Regions from separate parts of the Homo sapiens genome. Here all the other regions are linked to region 2. The links are contacts of gene promoters, found by promoter capture Hi-C in human tissues and cell types (Jung and others, 2019). All regions are on one chromosome and are shown on one strand. The core of a region is centred on a gene start or on the middle of the fragment in contact, and the rest is flanking DNA. Distances in the headings are between cores, read along the strand shown. Region 1 overlaps APCDD1L (APC down-regulated 1 like). Region 2 holds the start of NELFCD (negative elongation factor complex member C/D). Region 3 has its middle 16 kb from the start of EDN3. Region 4 has its middle 54 kb from the start of EDN3. Region 5 overlaps APCDD1L-DT (APCDD1L divergent transcript). Region 6 overlaps EDN3 (endothelin 3). Region 7 has its middle 140 kb from the start of PHACTR3.

The links. Contacts are between HindIII fragments. The study calls those that stand out against the background at their distance.
Region 1: a fragment that was not itself captured here is called in contact with the fragment with the promoter of NELFCD in region 2 in 1 of the 25 tissues and cell types used here (liver).
Region 3: a contact is called between a fragment that was not itself captured here and the fragment with the promoter of NELFCD in region 2, in 1 of the 25 tissues and cell types used here (thymus).
Region 4: a fragment that was not itself captured here is called in contact with the fragment with the promoter of NELFCD in region 2 in 1 of the 25 tissues and cell types used here (small bowel).
Region 5: a fragment that was not itself captured here is called in contact with the fragment with the promoter of NELFCD in region 2 in 1 of the 25 tissues and cell types used here (adrenal gland).
Region 6: a contact is called between a fragment that was not itself captured here and the fragment with the promoter of NELFCD in region 2, in 1 of the 25 tissues and cell types used here (hippocampus).
Region 7: a fragment that was not itself captured here is called in contact with the fragment with the promoter of NELFCD in region 2 in 1 of the 25 tissues and cell types used here (mesendoderm cells).

What each region holds. Positions count from the first base shown.
Region 1 is chr20:58,478,521-58,481,492 of GRCh38, forward strand. The region is part of intron 1 of APCDD1L (APC down-regulated 1 like); the gene reads right to left. Among named protein-coding and RNA genes, the nearest start is that of APCDD1L-DT, 35 kb to the right of the region's middle. The HindIII fragment of the contact is 3,432 bases long and covers 1-2,972 here.
Region 2 is chr20:58,979,983-58,982,829 of GRCh38, forward strand. NELFCD (negative elongation factor complex member C/D) reads left to right here and starts at 1,274. Exons shown (of 15, transcript NM_198976.4): 1 at 1,274-1,387. The coding sequence starts at 1,328. RefSeq lists a silencer at 1,130-1,609 and an enhancer at 1,532-2,032. The HindIII fragment of the contact is 13,643 bases long and covers 1-2,847 here.
Region 3 is chr20:59,282,659-59,285,881 of GRCh38, forward strand. No RefSeq gene overlaps it. Among named protein-coding and RNA genes, the nearest start is that of EDN3, 16 kb to the right of the region's middle. The HindIII fragment of the contact is 4,109 bases long and covers 1-3,223 here.
Region 4 is chr20:59,353,516-59,356,649 of GRCh38, forward strand. No RefSeq gene overlaps it. Among named protein-coding and RNA genes, the nearest start is that of EDN3, 54 kb to the left of the region's middle. The HindIII fragment of the contact is 5,311 bases long and covers 1-3,134 here.
Region 5 is chr20:58,609,491-58,612,491 of GRCh38, forward strand. All of the region lies in intron 6 of APCDD1L-DT (APCDD1L divergent transcript), which reads left to right. Among named protein-coding and RNA genes, the nearest start is that of LINC01711, 24 kb to the right of the region's middle. RefSeq lists an enhancer at 509-1,010. The HindIII fragment of the contact is 6,289 bases long and covers 1-3,001 here.
Region 6 is chr20:59,315,464-59,318,366 of GRCh38, forward strand. The region is part of intron 2 of EDN3 (endothelin 3); the gene reads left to right. Among named protein-coding and RNA genes, the nearest start is that of EDN3, 16 kb to the left of the region's middle. RefSeq lists an enhancer at 2,486-2,903. The HindIII fragment of the contact is 4,742 bases long and covers 1-2,903 here.
Region 7 is chr20:59,465,736-59,468,954 of GRCh38, forward strand. No RefSeq gene overlaps it. Among named protein-coding and RNA genes, the nearest start is that of PHACTR3, 140 kb to the right of the region's middle. The HindIII fragment of the contact is 3,378 bases long and covers 1-3,044 here.

The DNA.
Region 1 (2,972 bases), core at 151-2,650, 500 kb before region 2:
CTGATTCTCTAGCACCTGGCACAGTGCCTCAGGGATGCCCAATACATATTTGTTGTGTTAAGTCATGGAAAGTGCTTAGGACAATGCCTTCATAGACTAAGTGCTCAGTAAATGCTATTTATAATGACTACTTTTCGCTGAATGAATGAATGGCTTGTGGTCCATAGCAGCACGTGTGTGACTTCCTTGTTGACCCTTCTCCCACCCCTCAGGATGTGGCCATTACAGTCAGGCTTGAAGCAGGAGAGGAGAAAGACAAGGTTTACAGCTGTTGGGATTGCCAAGAATCTGGCTGAGGGCAAAAGGGTGATCAGTCAGGGAGTTCCCAGCAGGCTGGGGGCCCAGGCTGATCCAAGCAGGTAGAGAGGAAAGAGAAGTAGGTGAAGGGAGATTGGTGTGTGAGCATCAGATCATGTCACAGGCTTAGATGGGTTGGATCTGGCCTAAGAAGCGAATGCCAGGTGCTTTGCTTTAAAGCCTCTTTTCACCCTTGGAACCTGCCCTAGTGAAACCAGGATCCTGACATGGTCCTGCACCCCCAAGGAAGCCTCCACTAGCTCCACAGTCACATAATGCAAGCCATAAATGTCAGCCCTGCATGTGATTTTACTGGTGCATGTTTTCTAGTAGCCATGTTAAAAAAGCTAAAAAGAGACAGGTAAAATCAATTTTAATGATATATTTTATCCGGCTCCAAGTACTATATATTTCAACATGTAACAAATACAACGATTAATGAGATATTTTATGTGCTTTTCCCCCCCATACCAAGTCTTCAGAACTTGGTGTATATTTTATACTTACAGCACAACTCAATTTAGACAGGTCACATTTCAGGTGCCCTGTGACTACATGGCCAGATTAGACAGCAGAGCTCTAGCTCAAGGATGGAGCATGCATGTCACATTTTGCTGTATCAGAGGTTTTCAAGTTGGCTTCTGAAGACCCTGGGGTTATTTTTGAAACAGATAGGGCAACCCAGTGGGTAGGATGTAGTCTTTGACCCAGCTTTAGCCCAAACAGTCCCTATCTGTTGCTCTGTTTTATATACTGAGGTTTGGATTAAGATTTGCTTTTTTTTTTTTTTTTTTTCTTAAAATATCTGAAACCCTCTAGTTTATTTCAAAACCGTCAGCTTGAGGTAATTCACCTAGAAAGTTTGGACTTGGAGGAAGCTTACACATATTTTAAATAAAAATTTCAGCAATGGCTCCCTACCCAAAAAATAACCTCTCTTGATTAGAGGAGGCTGCCTTTTACAAATGGAGGAGATATGCTGGCTGCGATGGTGGCCCTGGCTGCGTGGCCATTAAGCTTCAGAGACCGGCTGTGGAAATGGAGCCATTCCAGCACTGCTGCAGCCAAAGATGTACTTTCCAATGAAGTCACTGCACAAAAGGCATGCAGGGTTTGCACCAGAACACCCCCAGAAGGCTGCAGATTGGATGCTATGACTGGATGCTGCATCAACAAACACAGAAATATGAAGACACACTTTGCATTCTAAGAAGCCCACCTCCAACCTCTGGTGTGAATGGCTGGTCCTCAGATACCTCACATGTCTCTCATTTGGCTATAATGGAATCTCCTCATCCACCTAATCCGAGAATCTTCGTGTTCAGGGCTGGCAGGCAAGTTGGGGAATGGGTTGGACTTTGCTACCTTGGGAAACACAGAAATTATATGCTCTAAACAAAGCACCCTCCACCCGCCGCAGCCTTCAGCATCCCAGCCCTGTGGAATGTGCCCTCCTCTGCTCAGTGCACTCAGAGAGTTGAAGGCTGCCCGAGAAAGTCAGTCAAGGGGTACCTGGCAGAGCAGGTCTGAGGATGTGAGAAGCAGAAGGGCCTTTGGATTAAGAAGCTGCGGGTTGACAGGTGATCAAAGGGACAGGGTTTGGTTAGCTACTGGCCCCCCAGTTCTCCATGAAAAGTCTCAGGTCAGTCTGGACCACGGGATGGAGGACAAAGGTGGGCCTTGCTTGGTACCACCTGGAGAAGGTGACTGCTTCATGTTTGTGTGACATGTGCTTAAGCCACAATGGAAAACGCTGCGTATGAGGAAGCGGCTGGCCACTGAGGATAACTCCCCGAGGCCTCTGCTTAGCCACTCCTGCTGAGGGAAAGGAAGTGCACAGTTCACAGAATGGGAAAGGAATGGGGGCCTGGGGAGACGAGTTCTGGCCCACCAAGCCTGGCTCATAAGCTAGGTTTTTCTGTTTGTTTGTTTAGGAATGTTCCAGAACGAAAACTGTGCACATGAAAACTCTCCCTTGGCCTCATGATAATGCTAATTATTCTTGCTCTGGCTGGAGCTCCCACCCAGTTGGAAACTGGAACATCCCAGCCACAGGCCAGCTGCTTCCAAAGAGCCAAGGAAGCAGGGTGACAGATGGAAGCGTTTCCCTTTTCACCCAGATGTTCCGGTGTTTTGGAGACAAGGCCTCGTTAACTTGACTTTAGCACCTGCGTTCCCAGCTTGCACGTTGGTCTGTAGACATTATTTATACCAAACTTGGCCAATGCTGTCCACTGATGCCAACATCCCACCTGGTGCTTGGAGGAGCCGGTGAGGGGATGATGACAGCTTGTAGCATCACTGCGTAGAAGGGGTTCTGAATGTGCCCAGATCTCACTGAATGTCCTGTTGCCTGCCCTAAGCGGTGTAGTTAGGAGTCAGTGTTTTCCAAACAGAATGTGTATCTGGGAGTCTCCCGTTGGACTGAACTTTTATTAGCTCTCTTGGCAGAAGGCTGAAGCTTTTATTGTTCTATAGAACAGGACTTCGGCAAGATAATCACAAGGTTTTGACACATTCAATAAGAACGAAGGTGTTCGTATACATCATGGCGAAGACCCCTCAGAACCCAGAAAGGGTGCCTGAGAGGGACTCCTGGGATGCCCCCTTGAGCGGCTGAACTCTTCATGGCCTTGGCAACTGGTTCTCCACCAGATCTTCCCCAGAGGGGCCAA
Region 2 (2,847 bases), core at 24-2,523:
ACACAACAACCAAACAAAAACCTTTCCGTGATCATCAGGAGGCTGTCATATTCTCACCCCCTACTTCACGCTGGGAATCGAGCTGCGGGCTTTACAACAGCGTCAGCTGCTCCCTTTGGCAACGACCAGAGAGGTCCTTTCTCCAGAGATTTTTGTCAGCTCTGGGCACTTTTGCTTTGTGGGCCTATCTTCCACTTTATAAAAAATTAAAAATGCTACTTTCCACTGCATTCAGTACTTTTTCTTCTCTTTTCTTTTTTCTTTTCTTTTCTTTCTTTCTTCTTTCTTTCTTTTTCTTTTTCTTTTTTTTTTTTTTTTTGACACAGTTTCACTCTGTTGCCTAGGCTGGAGTGCGGTGGTGTGATCTTGGCTCACTGCAACCTCCACCTCCTGGGTTCAAGCGGTTCTCGTGACTCAGCCTCTTGAGTAGCTGAGACTACAGGCGCCCGCCACCATGCCCAGCTAATTTTTGTGTTATTAGTAGAGAAGGGGTTTTACCATGTTGACCAGGCTGGTCTCGAACTCCTGACCTCAGGTGATCCGCCCGCCTCGGCCTCCCAAAGTGTTGGGATTACAGGCGTGAGCCACCGTGCCCTGCCCTTTTTATGTATGTATTTATTTATTTGAGATAGGGTCTCGCTCTGTCGCTCAGGCTGGAGTGCAATGGTGCGATCTTGGCTCACTGCAACCTCCGCCTCCCGGGTTCAAGCGATTCTCCTGCCTCAGTCACCCGAGTACCTGGGATTACAGGCGCATGCCACCACGCCCGGCTAATTTTTGTATTTTGAGCAGAGACGGGGTTTCACCATGTTGGCCAGACTGGCCTCGAACTCCTGACCTCAAGTGATCCGTCAGCCTCGGTCTCCCAAAGTGCTGGGATTACAGGCGTGAGCCCCCACGCCCGGTCGCGTTTAGTACTTTTTACCAAAACTAAAAGAAATTAAAACACTTTCGTGGGTCCTGGACACTTCCGGAAGGATTTGTTTCCAGCTGCCAGATGAGGAAACTGGGGCTCGCAGAGCCGGCGCCGCAGGGGAGGGGCTGTGCACGAATCCAGTGGGAAACCTCTCTCCGGAGCTAAGCCCCTGGTCCACCCGGGCATCGCTCCGGGATCGACTGGGGGCGTTCCTTCCGCCGGTCCCCTTTGTTCCCAGTGCCGAGCCCGCGGCCCTGCCCTTCCTCCAGGCCCCGCCCCTTCTTCCAGGCCCCGCCTCCCGCCCGGGCCGAGGCGCGCGGCCGCGCGTGCGCCCGCCCGCCCGTCCCCGCCTCGCGCATGCGCCGCGCTCGCTCGCGGGAGGGCATGGCGGGGGCCGTGCCGGGCGCCATCATGGACGAGGACTACTACGGGAGCGCGGCCGAGTGGGGCGACGAGGCTGACGGCGGCCAGGTGAGGCGGGGCACTGGGCGCACCCTAGAGAGAATCGTTCGTCTCCGCCGCCGGCGGGCCGGCCCCACTCCCGGAGAGGCCGCGCGGCGCGAGGCTGCGGGCGTGCGGGGGGTGTGCGCGCGCACGGCCCGCGCGGTCACCGTGTGGTTCAAGCACAGCCCGCCCCGCCCCCGCCCGCCCGGGGTCCCGCGGCGCGGCCGCCGGGGTCCCCGCCTCCTCGCCTGCAGGACCTTGGGGTGGGGGTGAGGCGCCGGAGGCTCTGGCGCGGGGCGGCCCGAGGCCCCCAGTACCCCCTCGCTCCGGCCAGGCCCGGCGCCGGCCCTGCGACCCCCGCGGCGGGCGGGACACCAACGCTAAGGTGGAGGGTTGGGTCCGGAGCTCACAGACTTTTAAACAAAAATAAAGTGGAAAAACTTCACAGCAGCATCATGAGGAAAAAGTAGAACTTAGGGCATTCCTACATGTGCTTTACTGTTTTATAAACTGTACTCTTCAGCACCTTGGGCTGATTTCATCTGTTTTTGGGCAAACTGATGGAAAGGATTTTCGGGCCTTGACCTTCCAGGGTTTGGGGTGGAAGCCCAGGAGGGATCACTGTTCCACCCTGAGGACAGGGACTGCAGAGCCAGGGCAGGTAGCTCTAGTCTGGACAGTGTGTCCCCACCTTACTCTAAAGACCCAACTGAGGCGCATGATTGAAATGTAGCTTCTCACGTCCCTCCCCTGGAGACGGCCCAACAGTTGGTCTGGACGGGAGCCTGGGAACTTGCATTTTTTTTTTTTTTTTTTTTTTTTTTTTTTTTTGTGGTGGAGTTTCGCTCTTGTTGCCCAGGCTGGAGTGTAATGGCGCCATCGCGGCTCACTGCAACGTCTGCCTCTCGGATTCAAGCGATTCTCCTGCCTCAGCCTCCCGAATAGCTGGGATTACAGGCACCCACCACCATGCCCAGCTAATTTTTAAAATTTTGAGTAGAGAGGGGGTTTCACCTTGTTGGCCAGGCTGGTCTCAAACTCTTGACCTCAGGTGATCCACCCACCTCTGCCTCCCAAAGTACTGGGATTACAGGCGTGAGCCACTGCTCGTGGCCCAGGAACTTGCATTTTTAACAACAATCAAGATTGGGGATGTCTGGTGCATTTTGAAGTGGTATTATAAGGGAATAAAGGATGAAGTGGGGCTTACGTTGATAAACATGGGTGGTGGTGTGATGGCGGCTTCGGAGCCATGGTCTAAAATGCCAAGGCGGGCGATGTGTTTCTGGAACTGAAAGAAGCCCTGTGATGTTAGCTGCCTGGTGGAAGCAGTGGCAGGAGGTCAGTAGGGAGCAGGTTCTGAAGATCCTTGGAGAGCTGCTGAATGGTATGGCTTGTTCAGGAGTTTGGGGCAGGGAGTGACACGAGTAGATTTGCATGTTGGATCATTTCACAGTGTTGGAGGCTTAGGGTGGAGTGGATAGAGT
Region 3 (3,223 bases), core at 407-2,906, 300 kb after region 2:
AATGAATGCCACCTTGGGGTTTGTGCCCTTCCATTTCATAATCATGTGACCTTTATTTCCTTTCTTTTCTGTTGACAATTTTTTCTAAGAGATTTGGAGCATCTCTTTCGCTTGAAATTTTTATGACCTTTAAAACTCCTGCCTCCATTCTCCCTAAGACTGCCTTCAGAAAAGCTGCAGCTGATCCCAGCACATGACTCACACAGCATCTACCTGTCACATTCCAAGTGCCTCGCTGTGTCGTGGGCATCAAGTGGCAAAATGAACAAAGATCGAATGTCAGGAGGCCCTATCCAGGGTCACATGCTTGGCCGCACTTCCCCTTTCAAGAGCTGGTGGGAGAAAGATTTTGAGCAGGGTCACCGAAGACAGGTATGCTCTGTAGGAGAGCAAAGAGAAGGAAGAAATGCTTTGCCTTAATGACTTTTTCAAAGACTCAGGATTTCCCTGGATGCCTTTCTGGCTTTGAACTAAAGTGCTCTGAAAGATCAACTTGCTTGGCTATATTGCCCTTGGTAACTTTTCTTGGGGAAGACAGGAAGCTTCCCCACTACCCTTTTTTTAAAGAAAAGTATTTTTTAAATTGTGGAAGCCAGGCGGGAAGCCAGCCTCCTGAGTAGCTGGGATTACAGGGACGCACCACCACACTCAGCTATTTTTTTATATTTTTAGTAAAGACAGGGTTTCACTATGTTGGCCAGACTGATCTGAACTCCTGACCTCGTGATCTGCCCGTCTTGGCCTCCCAAAGTGCTGGGATTACAGGCATGAGCCACCCTGCCCGGCTGTCATTATTCTATTTTTAGTCTTCTGAGGAGCTGCCATACTGTTTTTCACAGCAGCTGTACCATTTGCATTTTCACCAGTGGTGCTCAAGTGTACCGATTTCTCCATATCCTCACCAACACTGGTTACTTTCTGTTATTTTGATAATAGCCATCCTAATGGGTGTGAAGTGGTATCTCATTGTGGTTTTGATCTGTTTTTCCCTAATAAGGAGTGATGTTGAGCGTCTGGTCCTGTGCTTATTGGCCATTAGTACATACTCTTTGGAGAAAAGTCTTCAAATCCTTTGCCATATTTTAATTGAGTTTGCTTTTTTGTTGTTGCATTTTGGTTTTTTACATATTCTGGATGTTAATCCCTTAAGAGATAAGCAATTTGCAAATACTTTCTTCCAGTCTGTGGGCTGCCTTATTACTCTGTTGATGGGTCCTCTGATGCACAAGTTTTTAATTTTGATGAAGTCCAATTTGCCTATTTTTTCTTTTGTTGTCTGTGCCTTTGGTGTCAATAAATCATTGCTAAATCCTTTGTCATGGATTTAGCATGGAAAAAGCTTTCTCCATATGTTGTCTTCTAAGAGTTTCAGAATTGTAGCTCCTACATTTAGGTCTTTGGTCAATTTTGAGCTAATTTTTGTATGTGGTGTTAGCTAAGGGTCCACTTTTATTCTTTTGAATGTGGATATCCTGTTTTTCCAGGACCATTTGTTGAAAAGATTGTCTTTTCCTCTATTGAATGGGTTGGCATCCTTGTTGAAAATCAATTTCACATATATTTGATGGTTTATTCTTGGGCATGCCCTCAGGAACTTTTACTGTATTCATGCATTCTTTCTTTGAATTTGCCATATTTTTGTGTTATCCATGTTCTCTGTGCCTGTCTCACTGTTCCACCAGATTACAAACTTCTTGAGAATGGTTTCTAGATTGTTTTCACTAGTTTGTGTGTTGCCATTGCCTAGTGGCTTTATTTATTTACTGGGGCTAATCTGATCAATGTAGTCAGGCTGGCTATATTAGCATAAATGACCTGGCAAGTGGGTTTGCATTGATCCCCATTTGAAGCTTGCCCATCCTGAGCACGTTGTAGGACGATTATGAGTATTCTAATGATTTTGCTCTACCAGCCTCCTTCTCTAGCCAGTGAGCATCTTGGCAGTGCCTGGCCCATTGCTCACTTCTTAATAAGTGTTTTGAGCAAACAGATAAGCCCGTGGATAAATAGCTGTTGAGAATGTGGAGTAGCCACTGGAGTCTGCTACACTCATCGGGGGAGCGTGGCCCAGAGGGGTTGAATCACAGGTGGATTCTCCTTTTCAGTCCCCTTTTCTGGATCTTCTTTCTCTTTCTGGATCTAAACTTTGGATCACCTCAGGTCTCAGCCTCAGATCTCTTCTCCATCCACATTTATTTCCAGGCTAAGCTTATCCTGAAGCTTTAAATGCAATCCATTTGCTGACAACTGCTGAGTCCAAATCTCCAGACCCACCCTCTCTCGTAAGACTAGTGAAGCCACTGAGCCCTTCTGAGCCAGTGTCCTCATCTGCAAACAAGGGATACTATGATCTTCCTTGCTGCTGTGTATTATAGATACTGTGTGCCAATGCCGGGCACCTAGAAGTGGTCAGCATTATTTCAGTTTATCTTATTAAGAGTCAGCTGTAGGAAGCCCCTAAAGACTACTTATATTATCAGATATTCCACAATAAAGAACATTTGGAAAAAATTAAAACAAGAGTTAAAATGTGGAAATCTGCATGCATGGCAGGCAGCTGAAAGCCACCCTAGACTCCTCAAAGTGTGGAGGGTGTATACTGTTTGTACTTTTCCATGTTAATCTGTTTTCCCAAAGGGTTTGTTTTGTTTTGTTTTGAGGCAGAGTTTCACTCTTGTTGCCCAGGCTGGAGTGCAATGGCACGATCTTGGCTCACCACAACCTCCACCTCCCGGGTTCAAGTGATTCTCCTGCCTCAGCCTCCCGAGTACCTGGGATTACAGGCATGCACCACCATGCATGGCTAATTTTTGTATTTTTAGTAGATATGGGGTTTCTCCATGTGGGTCAGGCTGGTCTTGAACTCCTGACCTCAGGTGATCCGCCTGCCTCAGCCTCCCAAACTGCCGGGACTACAGGTGTCAGCCACTGTGCCCGGTCCTCCCAAAGGGTTTTAGTTTGTCGATTCCTTTTGTCTTCAACCAGTTGAGAGCAGCCATATCAACAGAGGCCAGAGTGATTTCAAACTGAAAATGACTGTGGTGTTGAGCTATAGGCCTGGTGATGCTGCAGAGCAGGAGAGCCCCAAAATTGGGGCTTAGCCCTGGAGGGTTCTTGGCTTAGCCCAGGAAAGACTTTAAGGGTGAGCCAGTGGTGTTCAACAACAGCTTTGATTGAAGGGGCCGTGCACAGCAGTGGCAGAGGGACTGCACCTTGTAGAGCA
Region 4 (3,134 bases), core at 300-2,799, 370 kb after region 2:
AAGATGGGGACGGTGCAAGGCCATTCATTCCTCACTCGGGGACCATGACGGGCCACATGAGAGAGGTCAGATGCTTGTAGGAGCAGTATCAGCCTGGTCTCAACAATGGGGCAACGGGCACCTCTCTGGTGAGCCGTGTGGACAGGTGGACCCAGCCATAAGGACCTCTCCTATGCTTTGGGGCTGGCTTGGACCTCAGCACAGCCCTGGGGGAGTCCCACAGTGCCATCCAGCTGGCATATGGACACGTGGAGGTGAATTTCGTCCATGGGGAGAAGTAGGAGCCTGGCTAGTTCTTGCCCCTCTTGAGATGTGGCCTGAGATTCTCCCTAGCTATGAGGAGCTTGACAGCCTGGGGAACAGGCCCTTTTCCCCTGCTCTGGATCGCCCAGGCTCTGCGCCTGGCAGCCATGGCTTCATTTATTGATCAAGGTGGCAGCAATTTTCTCATCACAGAATCTAACCCAGTGCACGCCCCTGGTGTGTGTGTGTCTTCTGCTTGCTGTCAGTGACAGGTGAGGCCTGGGGTGGTGGATGGGGCCAGAAAGGATGGAAGCCTGGGGAGGAGACGGTTCCCAACCCTCATGCGGCTTTCCTCCACTATTCCTCTGGGCCGACTGGGCTTCATGGAACTCTCGCGGCTGCCCCACTTGATGGATGAGGACACCAGGTCTGAGAACTTCCCAGGTCACAGGGCAGGGATTCAGACCCTAGGCCAGGCCTGAATCGTGCCCACTTTAGAACAGGGTGGCCTTGTTGCTGGGCATTTTCTGCAGTGCCATTGTGCCTCATTTGCCTTGTGTACACGGGGCCGACCGGTCATGCCTGCGTGCGTGCACCCAGCAGGGCCCCGCAAAGTCCTACCTGCTTTTCTGTCTGCCTGGAGTGCGCACCCTCCACTCTCAGCTTACCACTTATTGCCTCATCCTAAATACCCCCTTTAGGCTTTTTGTTTTGCTCTTTTAGATGAAGAAAACTTTGAAATTAAAATGCAAAATCGGATCTTTGCCTTTTGTGATAAAAGCCCATTTCCTCCTCAATCAAGCACAATTATACAAAGGTATTCATTGCATCACCTGGTAAAGCTGAGATCAATATGAACAGGCTGGGTTTTGGCTTCCGTAACTCCCAGCACCAAGCCTGGGGGCTGTCAGGAGCCTGAGGCTTCCTGGTTTCAGGTGCAGCCACTCTAGTGCAGGAGGCAGGCCTTCCTCGTGACTCCTCCTAGGAAGATGGGCCCCACCTGCTGTGTTTCCAGTCACGTAGTTGCTGCGGCGGGTGGGTCTCCTCCCAGTGGACAGTCACCCCAGAGAGCACAGACCCCAGCACTCCCAGGCCTGGCACCTCCAAGGGGCCAAGTGAATAAAGTAAATGAGACGGGTGAACACGGCTCCACGGGCGTTAAGGCCATGGGCTCCCACGCTGCACGACTTTAGTCCTGCCTCTCCTCGCTCTATGACCTTGGGCGGCAGCCACGGAACTCACGGAGCCTCAGCTTGCTCATCTCAAAAGTGGACGCGACCACGCAGCCTCTTCCCGTGGGGCTGAGGTGAGCACTCAGTGGAATGATCACCGTGCCTCAGGCAGGACAAGAGCCACGGGGACTGTGGCTATTTCTAATATCCTTAGTAGTAGTAGTATTAATGGTGCACAGGAGTGGGGACAGCGGGAGTTCTCAAGGGACCCTCCTTGTCACGGATGTTATCGCTGGGACTTGGGGATGGCTTCAAGAGCCACAGGAACATTCACCAAGTAACTGCTGGGATCCAGGAAAGCAAGAGGGAGATGCCGCTGGGCCTTTCCAATGACCTCTGCCTGTCTCCCCCACCACACTCAGCTACTGTGGAAGTTGGGAGTTTGAGCTGGGCCAGGCTTCCTCTTCTCTGCTTACCGTTGTCTTTGTGATGAATGCAACCCTCTCTGTCTCTCTCCCCATCTCCCCTCTCTCCCCTCTCTCCCTCTCTCTCACTCCCTCTCCCTCTCTCCCTCTCCCTCCCTCTCTCCCTCTCTGCCTCTCTCCCTCTCCCCTCTCTTCCTCTCCCCCTCCCCTCTCTTCCTCTCCCCCTCCCCTCTCTTCCTCTCCCCCTCTCCCCCTTTCCCCCTCTCCCTCTCCCCCTCTCCCCTCTCTCCCTCTGTCCCCCTCCCTCCTCTCCCTATCTCCCCCCTCCCTCCTCTCTCCCTCCCTCCTCTGTCCCTCTCCTCCTCCCTCCTCTGTCCCTCTCCCCCCTCCTCTCTCCCTCTCCCCCCCTCCTCTCTCCCTCTCCCCCCTCCTCTCTCCCTCTCCCCCCTCTTCTCTCCCTCTCCCCCCCCTCTCTTCTCCTCTCCTCTTTTCCTCTCCTCTCTCCTCCTCCCCGACTCCCCTCTCTCCTTCTCCCCTCTCTTTTCCTCCCCTCTTTTCCTCCCCTCTCATTTCCTCCCCTCTCTTCTCCTCCCCCCTTTTCCTCCACTCTCTTTTCTTCCCCTATCTTTCCCTCCCCTCTTTTTCTCTCCTCTCTCCCCCACTCCCATCTCTCCCTCTCCCCCTCTTCTTCTTCCACTCTCTTCCCTCCCTCTCCCCTCTCTCCCATCTGTCTCTCCTCTGTCCCCTCTCTATCCTCTCTCTCTCCCCTCTCTCCTCTCTCTCCCCTCTGTCCTGTCCTGTCTCTTCTCTCTCCGTTTCCTCCTGCTCATAGGAACCAGGGCTCACATTCTAAGGAACTAAAGGCCATGAAGAAATACCAGGGGGTTTCCTCCAGAGGGTGGAGGTTGGCCCCTGTGGCTGCCACGTGGTGTCCTGGGGGTGGGCTTGGAGTTGCTCTGTGAAGATCCAGGGGACCTGCATCTGGGGTTACTTATGGCACAGTGCTAGAATTCTAGAGGGGAGCCCTCTGGGCACTCCTCCAAGGCCACATCCCAGACGTGGTGGGAGCTGCAGGGTCAGGTCATCGATGGTGTATTTCACGCTAACCAGATGTGGGCGGGCATGTGCCCTCCAGCAGATCCTTCAGAAGGAAGGAAGGAAGCTGTCACTGGGCCTTCCCAAGGCAAGCCCAGGCTTTCTCACACACCATCTCAGTCAGTCCTCATCCCATCCTGGTGGAGGGATCAGGATATCGTTTCTTCATTGTGTTGTGGGGGCAAAGGCGTAGCCCATC
Region 5 (3,001 bases), core at 153-2,652, 370 kb before region 2:
GAGGAATGAATGAGTTCATCTGGGCAGAGCATGCAGTCCCAACAGGACGGAATTTGCTTCCCAAGGGGGAAAAACATATTTTACTCTTTACATTTAAAGCATGGATACCTGAACAGTACCTAAACAGACACCCAGTATACCTGTGGCGTTAAAGTGTCATCGGAGAGAGCTATTAGGAAAAAATGCCTTAAAAGCCTCCTTGCAGGGGTGAAGAATGGCAAAAGCTTACAAAGATGGTTCCTGGAACACAGCAGGTGCTCAGCAAACTTCAGCTGCTTTGCTGTTATTACTACTCACAGCAGGTGTCACAGAGGAAGGACTGGTTGCAAGCTTGGGTTTAGGAGCCATACTGTTGGAGGTCCCTTCCTGGCTCTGCCACTTGCCAGCTGTGTGACATTGGGCAAGTTGCTTGACTTTTCTGTGCCTCAGTTTCTCTCATCTGGAAGCAGAGCTAATTAGAGCACCTGTCTCGTGCAGTTTTGTGTAGATTAGATGGGTTGATTTGTGTGGTATGTGTAGTTCAGTGCCTGGCACACAGTAAACACTCAGTAAATGCAAGCTATGATTATTATTGATTAAGATTGTTAATTATGACATGCAAGGAACTTGGGGGTCAATGGTGCTCATTGAGGGGAAACTGTAAGGAAGGGTGAGGTTCAAGGTTGGCCCCTAACTGCTTCTCCTGGGCATCTGGTCTGGCTCTAGCCTCAACCACTAAGGGCTGTCCTGGGCTCCAGAGGAGGGGCCGGGTGCCAGCCTAGGGCAGGAGCACCAACCGAGCACGTGAAGCACTTTGCACAGTGGCAGGGTGCTCAGGACTCTATGGAACACCCCTATCTGAGCACTGACTTCAGAGCAACGTGTCCTCCATGCATAACCCAGCTCCACATGCAGGGAGCCTGGGCCACTGCGGCCAGCTGCCCCCTTACCCTCTCCATGCCTGACCTGGCTGAGGTGGGGAGGGAGGAGTCTATCCCCTTCACACGACTTCCCAGACGGTGAGCCCCTCGCTTTCCTGGTCCGGACCCACAGTGAAGACTCGCTCTCCTGGGATCCCACGGAGACCTTACGAGGCCCCACGTGGTCCAGCCTGCCCGCCCATCCCTGCTCATCAGCCCACTGGCCACCCACTGCTCCAGAACACAGCAAGCCTGTCCCGCCTCAGGACCTTAGCACAGGCCATTCCACTGCCTGGAACTCTCTCCCCGTGGCTGGGGCCTTCTCAGCCTCCAAGTCCCCCAGTCAACCGTCCCCTCCCCTGACAGGCCTTCCCAGACCATCCAGGGTGAAGTGGACGTCACACGCCCTCCCCTCCCCTCCCCAGGTCTTCTCGTCATCATATCCCTGTTTCATTTTTGTGTTGCTCTAATCACGAACAACCATTCTCTGTGTGCGTGTTTCCTGTCCTTCTCCCCGTGAAAGATGACAAGCTCCATGGGCTGGGGGCTTTGTCTTGCCTGCTTCCTGCCCGCCACTTCCCAGTCCAGGGCCCCGCCAGCCCTCAGTACCTGCTTGTTGTGGGGATGAAGCCCACCGAGACCTTGGCTGCGCTCGTCATTTGCTGCGGTTGCCATCCCATTTTACAGCTGTAGACACTGACAGCAGAGATTCCTTTTGTGTCAATATCTCAGGGAAGTTTCTGGAACCCCTACCCAGGACCCAGGGAAAGGACTCTGCCTGGGAGGTTTCAGAGGGCACAGGAATGCAACACTGCTCAGGCCCTGGCACTTACATTTCTCTGCAAGGAGCATTTTCCTAAAATTTGTCTGTTGCCTCTGGACGCGTAAGCAAGGTGACTAAGGGACTCAGGATTTGATTAGGCAGCAAATCCGGATAAACAGGACAGGTGGCACTAATCAGAGCTGACGACTAGACAAGGCCTGGGAGGCCCTCAGGCTCTGTGAGCTCAGAGCACCTCTGTGGAAACTTCCTTCTGCCCGGTCCCCAGAGAGGATGGCCACAGCAGCACCCTGCCTGGCTGGGACGTGGCTGGATGGGGCACAGGCCTGGAGACCATGTGGCATGCACCCTGCCACTGAGCCCCCAGGTGGAGGTGCCAGGGGAGGGAGGTGGGGCTGCACAGGGTTTCTTGGCTGTCTCCAGCCAGTGGGGGACACTGAGCTTGAACTGGGCAGGTGACGACTTCTCTGGGCCTCAGTTTCCCCCTCTCTAGAGGTGATGAGTACAGGCCTGGGCTCCTGGCCCTGAGGTCCTAGGAAATGCTCTGTGCTGCAGACAGTCCATGAGGCCAGGACTGGCTCTGGCCCAGCCTGGTGTCTCCCAGGGCATGGAGGGAACACACATTCACTTCCAGAGAGCTGGAGCCTGGGGCAGGACTCTTGCCAACAGCCCCCGGCCAGAACCTGCAGGCCTCCCTCAGGTCCCACCTGGAGCCACCTGCCTGCCATGCCTTCCTGGCCTCGTTCCCCCATGGTAAAACAGTCACTGTGCCAGCCTTGGGCCAGGCTCTGACCTAAGTGTGTGTTTGTAAAGCAGTAGCTTCCTTTTTGCCTTCCAACAACCCGCAAGCCAGGAACTGTCACTGGCTCTCGTGTCACAAACGTGGTTTGAGGAACGCCTGCAAGGTCTCATGGTTAGAAAGGGCAGAGCTGGATTTCGGACCCATGCTGGCTTGAGAGGAAGACTCCCTCCCTCCCTCCCTCCCTCCTTCCCCCCTTTTCCTCCCTCCCTCCCTCTTCCTCCCTCTCTCTTTTCTAGTGACCAGAGCTTTCACTGATCAGCTAACAGTATTTGGCTAGCTCCCCAGGATCTGCTCCTCAATCCTAAATGGGACAGAAGTCTTGGCCACCAAGCGTGCCTGTGTCCCCCGCCAGGTTGAGGGGCAGAGGGTGCCACTGTGGCCCCCCGTGCCTGGCGGAAAGCACACCCCGGCTGGGTTCTTAAATCCGTAAGGTCACAATCAACAAGTGAAGGCACCCTGAGGACCCAAGGGCAGAGAGTTCCAGGAGGCGGCTGCGGGAGGGGCTGTCTGGGGCCCCCT
Region 6 (2,903 bases), core at 117-2,616, 340 kb after region 2:
ATGTATCCTAAGTGTGACATGAACATGTTCTATTTGTTGGGGAGACACTCAAGTCACCAGCTGGGCTTTTTAAATGAAAACAACACCTCTATTTAAATGAAACAACGCCTCTATCTGTAAAGAGGAAAATAGTATCAGGTACTCATTTTGTTCATGTGTCATCTGACCTATCTGCCTTCGCTTTATGGAATAAACCACTAGACTAGGAGTTGTAAACTCAGATGCTCCTGAGGGCCAGACACATAAAAAAGATGAGCGAAGGGGGCCAGGTATAAAACTACTGAAAATGGTGGGGACTGGGGCAGAATGGAGGGTTTACGCCCAGTCTCTGAGATCATTACCCGGCTGCCATGCTGGAATATGAGGTTGGTATTAGCACAACTTCCAATTCTTCAAGAAAAGCTGGAAATCGGGATGTTTATGTGAAATTTCCGGATTTAACAAAAAACACTATGGTTCACGCCTGTAATCCCAGCACTTTGGGAGGGTGAGGGGGTGGATCACGAGGTCAAACGACTGAGACCATTCTGGCCAACATGGTGAAACCCTGTCTCTACTAAAAATACAAAAAAATTAGCTGGGTGTGGTGGTGTGTGCCTGTAGTCCCAGCTGCTTGGGAGGGTGAGGCACGAGAATCGCTCAAACCCAGGAGGCGGAGGTTGCAGTGAGCCAAGATTGCGCCACTGCACTCCAGCCTGGCGACAGAGTGAGACTCTGTCTCAAAACGAAAACAAAAACAAAACACTGTTGACTGAAAAAAGCTGACAAAAATGCCAATTTGCTGACCTCAGTACTGGATTAAAAGTGTATGTGTGCAGGGCAGGGCCCCGCCCCTTGTCTGTCTTTACATAAGTTTTACCCGGAGTCTAGTCCAGCGCCTGCATGTTGAAAAGCAGTTGGCAAATATTTGTTGAATGCTATTCAGTTGTGGGGGGTGGAATAAAAACTGGGTTTTCAATAGGGAATGACAGTTTGATAAGCTTTCCTAAGAATTTAGAATCTGGTCAGTGGGAATATCTGTGTCTCTTCTTTAAACTTCAGATATACAGGCCAGTCTCCTGATCAGAAAGATGGAGAGTGTTAATTCATTCATGAAAAGGCAACACGGAACTTAAAAACAGAATCTTTAAAACAAAAGTCAGCTTTCCTTATTTAAAAACTTCTTGTAGAGAGAAATAAAGCGTTTTCAGTGTGGTGTTGCAGATGAAGAATGAATATGAGAGATTGGGGAATTTAATATTTAATAACACTTATACATGATGTTTGGGAAAACGTGACAAATAAGAAACATTTGATAAAAAAGACTCTGTTGTCACCACACCAATCAAATAATGAATGTTCTGAATACATAAGTTGAGTGATAATTTATTGGATGAACACACACAACACCAGAGATTGCGTATGTAAGTGTGCTGGAGGGCATTTTGTTTTTTCTAAGGATATTTGGATTAATCTTCTCACCTGCTTTTCTTTTGCATGGAGCTTTGTTTTATAACTGAGACATGAACAGATGGAAGAGCTGCCTACTTGTATAAAGGATTGTATTCTGAAAACCCCGTTGTATTATAGAGCGGTAGGCCCCAGCCACTGGGCAGGGCATGCTGGTCAAAGGTTCTCCGCCAATTTCACTTCACGTTCATGGTCCACCGTTAGGTCTTTCCTGTTCACTACTCAGTAAACAGCCAGCGATGAAGCAGGCCACAAATGAAATATGAATGCTCATGAGATATGAGTACGTTATCACTACTGAAATAGAAGTGCTCATGAGCTGGTAATCTGGCGTCAGAGCTCGGTGAGAAGGTGGTGTCGAATGAGGTGACCTGTGGCCTTGGGCTCCTTATTACCCTTCTTTATTGCTAAGTCAAACATCTCAAATGCCAAGCTTAGTAGGTGGGACTTTTCTGATACAACTCACTTGACCTCCCAGACCAGATAAATAACAATAGTAGCTACTGTTTGCTTATGGCACTTTGCTAAGTATTTTCCATGCAGTATCTCCTTTGCTTTGTCCAGCCACACTTTTGTCGACCAGGAAGTTGTTGAGAGGGTGAAGTGATCATCATGTAACATAAGAGCAGTATTACCAGGTCATGTGTCTCTGTGTGTACCTTGCACATACCTGTACCTACTGGCCTTTTTTCCTTTACCTGTTTTCGTAGTCCAACAGCATATAACTCCTGAAGGCATGGACACATAGGGATGTGCCTTTCTGTGTCCCTGTGACACTTACATTGATACCACGTATATAGTGGATGCTGAAGAATGTTGGAGATTCTTTCAGTGATTTTTGTGGTTATTGAACTCTTTAGGGTGAAAAGAATCCTGTCTCGCCAGACTAGAATGATCTCACCATGAATTACCAGTTGCTCAATCAATAATCTGTTCGCCTGGCCTTGTGTGAGGCCCATGGTGGGTAAAAAAGAAGTAAAAGACCTGCCCTCTCTTTTGAGGATCCAGTAATCTGCCTTTAGACTTGGGTAAGAAACACTGCAACTCTGGGCCCTGTGGGTTAGAGGACTGCCTCTGACGCCACTCTGGCCATGCCTCCCACCCCACTGTAAGAGTCTGGGACTCAAAGCCATATGCTCCCTCTTCAAGACCATGTTCCAGGTATTCAGGGGCTGGAATTCCCTACTCACGCATCCCCAAGACCACTTCCAGGGCCTGACACTTGGGGATGAGCAGGGCTCCAGGTACATATCTCCAGGCCTGCAGGGTGACAGCTGCTTACAGGATGTAGGGTGGAAGGAGCTTGGAGGAAGCAGCCTGGGGCATGCACGGGGAGTGCTTGAAGCCAGCGCTGGTGTGGGATGGCGCAGGATAGCAGAGAAGGTACTGGGCCTCCACCACATGTCGATACGGAGTGGCCAGGAGCCCAGGATTCTAAATTAAAAGCTGGACCT
Region 7 (3,219 bases), core at 106-2,605, 490 kb after region 2:
GCCTCCCTGTGCCAAGGCCAACATCTCACAAGAATACCCGGTTCCCGAGGCCGAGGCTGGGGTCCCAGGAGATGTGTTGCAGTTTTGTTTTTTGTTTTTATTTAACCCATAAATATTCCAATACATGGCACTAAAAAATAAGAAATCTGCCAAATAAGGGTGGTCACACATGTTACTATTAACAGCTAAAATATTAAAAATTATTAATATCATGAAATATCCAATCAGTATTTAAGTTTTGAATTGTTATTTTATCTATATGTTTGAAAGAGGATATATAATAGGTCTATACGTTGCCATGGATTCACCGAAATAGATCAAAACTCATCCAATATGTTTACATTTAGGAGTTCATAGTGACACTATCGGTCACTGCTGGAGGATGTCAGGGAACCAACTTATGATTTTGAAAAGTGATCAATGAAGAGAAAGAAGGAGGATTTGACCTGTCTTCCCCATGAAGGCCATCCGAGCCCCTGCGCTCCTGACTAGTCAGTCCTCGGAGGGGGCGGGAGTGGGTTTTGGGGACCCGAGGCTGACACCCTACTCCAAGCAGTCCTGGTCATCTTCGCATGGCTTCATCAGGCTGTGGTGCACCCTGACCTCTGCCCTCCAGGGGAGGAGAAGAAATCTTCCTCCTCAGTCAATAGGGCCGCCCCCGTTCTATCCTCGCTTATGGATTCATCTCTCAGGGCAGCTGCAGAATTTGCACGCCCGGGGCCACGTGAAAATGCCTGCCCCCTTCCTCCCAAAGTATGAAGATTTTGAAGACAGGACAGCAGAGCATTAAACTAAGCATGGGCTGTCTGAGCACAGCAGGCTGCACAACCACGGGGGCTGCCCACCCCGCACAACCTGCAGGCCTCATCTCCTGGGGGGTAAGGACTGGCAACATCAAGAGAAAGGAGGGGAAGGGGCTGGGATGAAGAGGCTGCCCAGGCCTATTTTACAGGCCACATGGGAAGGAAGAGAAGCCATCTCCAGAGACCTCATGAAGAACCAATCGCCAAAGCCAGAAACCAGACAAGAGCTAAGAGAGCCCAGAAAGAAAATTCAAAAAGCCAACATCAGAGCCGTAACCTTTCCTCTGTCACCAAAGTGTCTGCTCTTGGCCCTGGCTGGTGCCAAAATGTCACCACTCAGAGTTGCAGCTTCAGACCCAAGCGGCTGGGGCTGCAGGGGCAGGAGGGGGCCTGGGTGCCAGCCCAGCCCTCACCAGGTCCCCAAGCCCTTCACACCAGCTGCAACAGTGAGAATGAGGATGTTTGTGACATTGCCAGATGAGATGGTAACTAACGGCCCTGCCAGGCCCCAGGGATGCAGGGCAGGCTCCATGCAGCAGATGTTCTGTGATTACGAGGAAATTGAGGCAGGCGGAGGTTCCTGAGTCCAGAGGCTCTCCACCTCTGGCAGGCTGAGCCCAGCCTCCTTAAGGATGCAGCTCTGCTTGCACCAGGGAAGGGGAATGGGGAGGGAAGAGGGATGATCTTGTTGGGAGCAGGCAGTCTACAAAGAGCCCCACGCATCTGCTTCCAATTCATGACAACCTGGCTCTATTGTTGTTGTTTATTTTCCTTAAATGAAGTTAATAGTTTTAAAATTTGCCATATGTTGGCTTCGGTTAAGTTCTTTGCAGTGGTTTATGTAACCCAAGTGTGAGGGCCAAGGCCTGCAAGCCCCTGGAGTTGACTCTGACCACCTGGCCTGTGTCACACCCTGAGGTGCGTGTGTCTGAGGGAAGTGGGTAGGGTCCCCATAAAAAAAACTGAGGGGCCATTTCCAAGGAACGAAAACACAGGCCAGTGGGCAATAGTCCCACCCAAGGACAGAGGAGGGCTTGAAGAAATGCAGACGGCTGGGCCATCCTGGGGCTCTCTTGGTCCCAGTGTAGCCTGGGAATCTGCATTTTAAAACCTCCCCAGGGGATTCTAATGAGCAGTGAGAGAACTGCTGCCCCACCCTACCTCTGAGAGAGGCTGGAAGGACAAAGGGCTTACAAATTCTGCTATTATGCTGATAACAGTAATAGCAATTATTATTATTTTCAGTGAGAAAACTGCGGGCTCAGGGAAGTCACCTGGTACAGCCAATCTGGATGGAGGGCCCTGGCTTCTGCCATGCCAAAGCCTGTGCCTTGGAATCTATTTTAACTTAGCCAAAGTAAGAATATTTGCATGATTTCTGTTCTAGTCCATAATCAGCAGTCACTTGATGTTTTTTGTTTTTCAAGCAGTAGGCAGTTCACAGGGCTGAAAGAATTGGGAGGTGAATTATAAACTTTCTGCTTGAAGTGTTCCCAAATTCCAGACTCTGGAGCAATCGAGGGAGCCCTTCACAGCTGAACAGGAAACCCTGGCAATGGGGGCACAGAGGCAAAGGGCAGGGCCCTCCTTGGCACTGCAGCAGTTAGCCTGGGGAGAGGCTGAGAGGCAGGCGCATGACAGGGCATGGATCTCTCGGGGGTCACGGCCGAGTGCTCCTGGACTGGGAAAGGACAAGAGGGAAGATACCATGACCTTCAACAGGGGGCCTGAGGCCACCTGTAAGTTCTTTCATAAAGAACAGCCTTGAACTTCTGCAGGGAGGCAGGGAAGGGAAAATCAGGCCTCCTGGAGGCAGGAGGAGAGGGCCCCAGGTCTTGGCTGTTGGTACTGCCAGTAGCTCCCCTTCGTCTCTCTGTCTTTCTGTGTTCCCTTGACACCTGTCACCTTGTGCCTGTGGCAGAGCATGCGTCTGAATCAGTGCGAGGGTTTGTTCAAACACAGCGTGCTGGCCTCGCCCCTGAGGATCTGATTTAGGAGATCTGGGGAGGGGGAGAACTTGCATTTCCAACATGTTCCCAGGTGAGGTGGATGCTGCTGGTCCAGGGGCCACACCTGAAGCGCTTCTGTCTCAATTGATGTTCTCGGCAGTTCTCTGAGGGCGGAGGAAGAGACCAAAGCTTAGAGCTGAGAGCTAACATGCCTGAGGCCACACAACTAGCAACTGACAGATGCAGGATTCGAACTCAAGCTCAGAGATCCTGGAGCCCACTAACCACAAGGTACCCTCTTCTCACTTTAAACTTTCCCCCTAGACAGTCTGAGTCAGGGCAGCCTCTTTGGAGACAGGGGCTGGAACTTGACTGCACATTGGAGCCCCTGAGAAGCTTCTAAAATTTCCAGTGCTGGGGCTGCCTCCAGACCACTGAAATCTGAGTCCCTGGGGTGGCGCCCACCA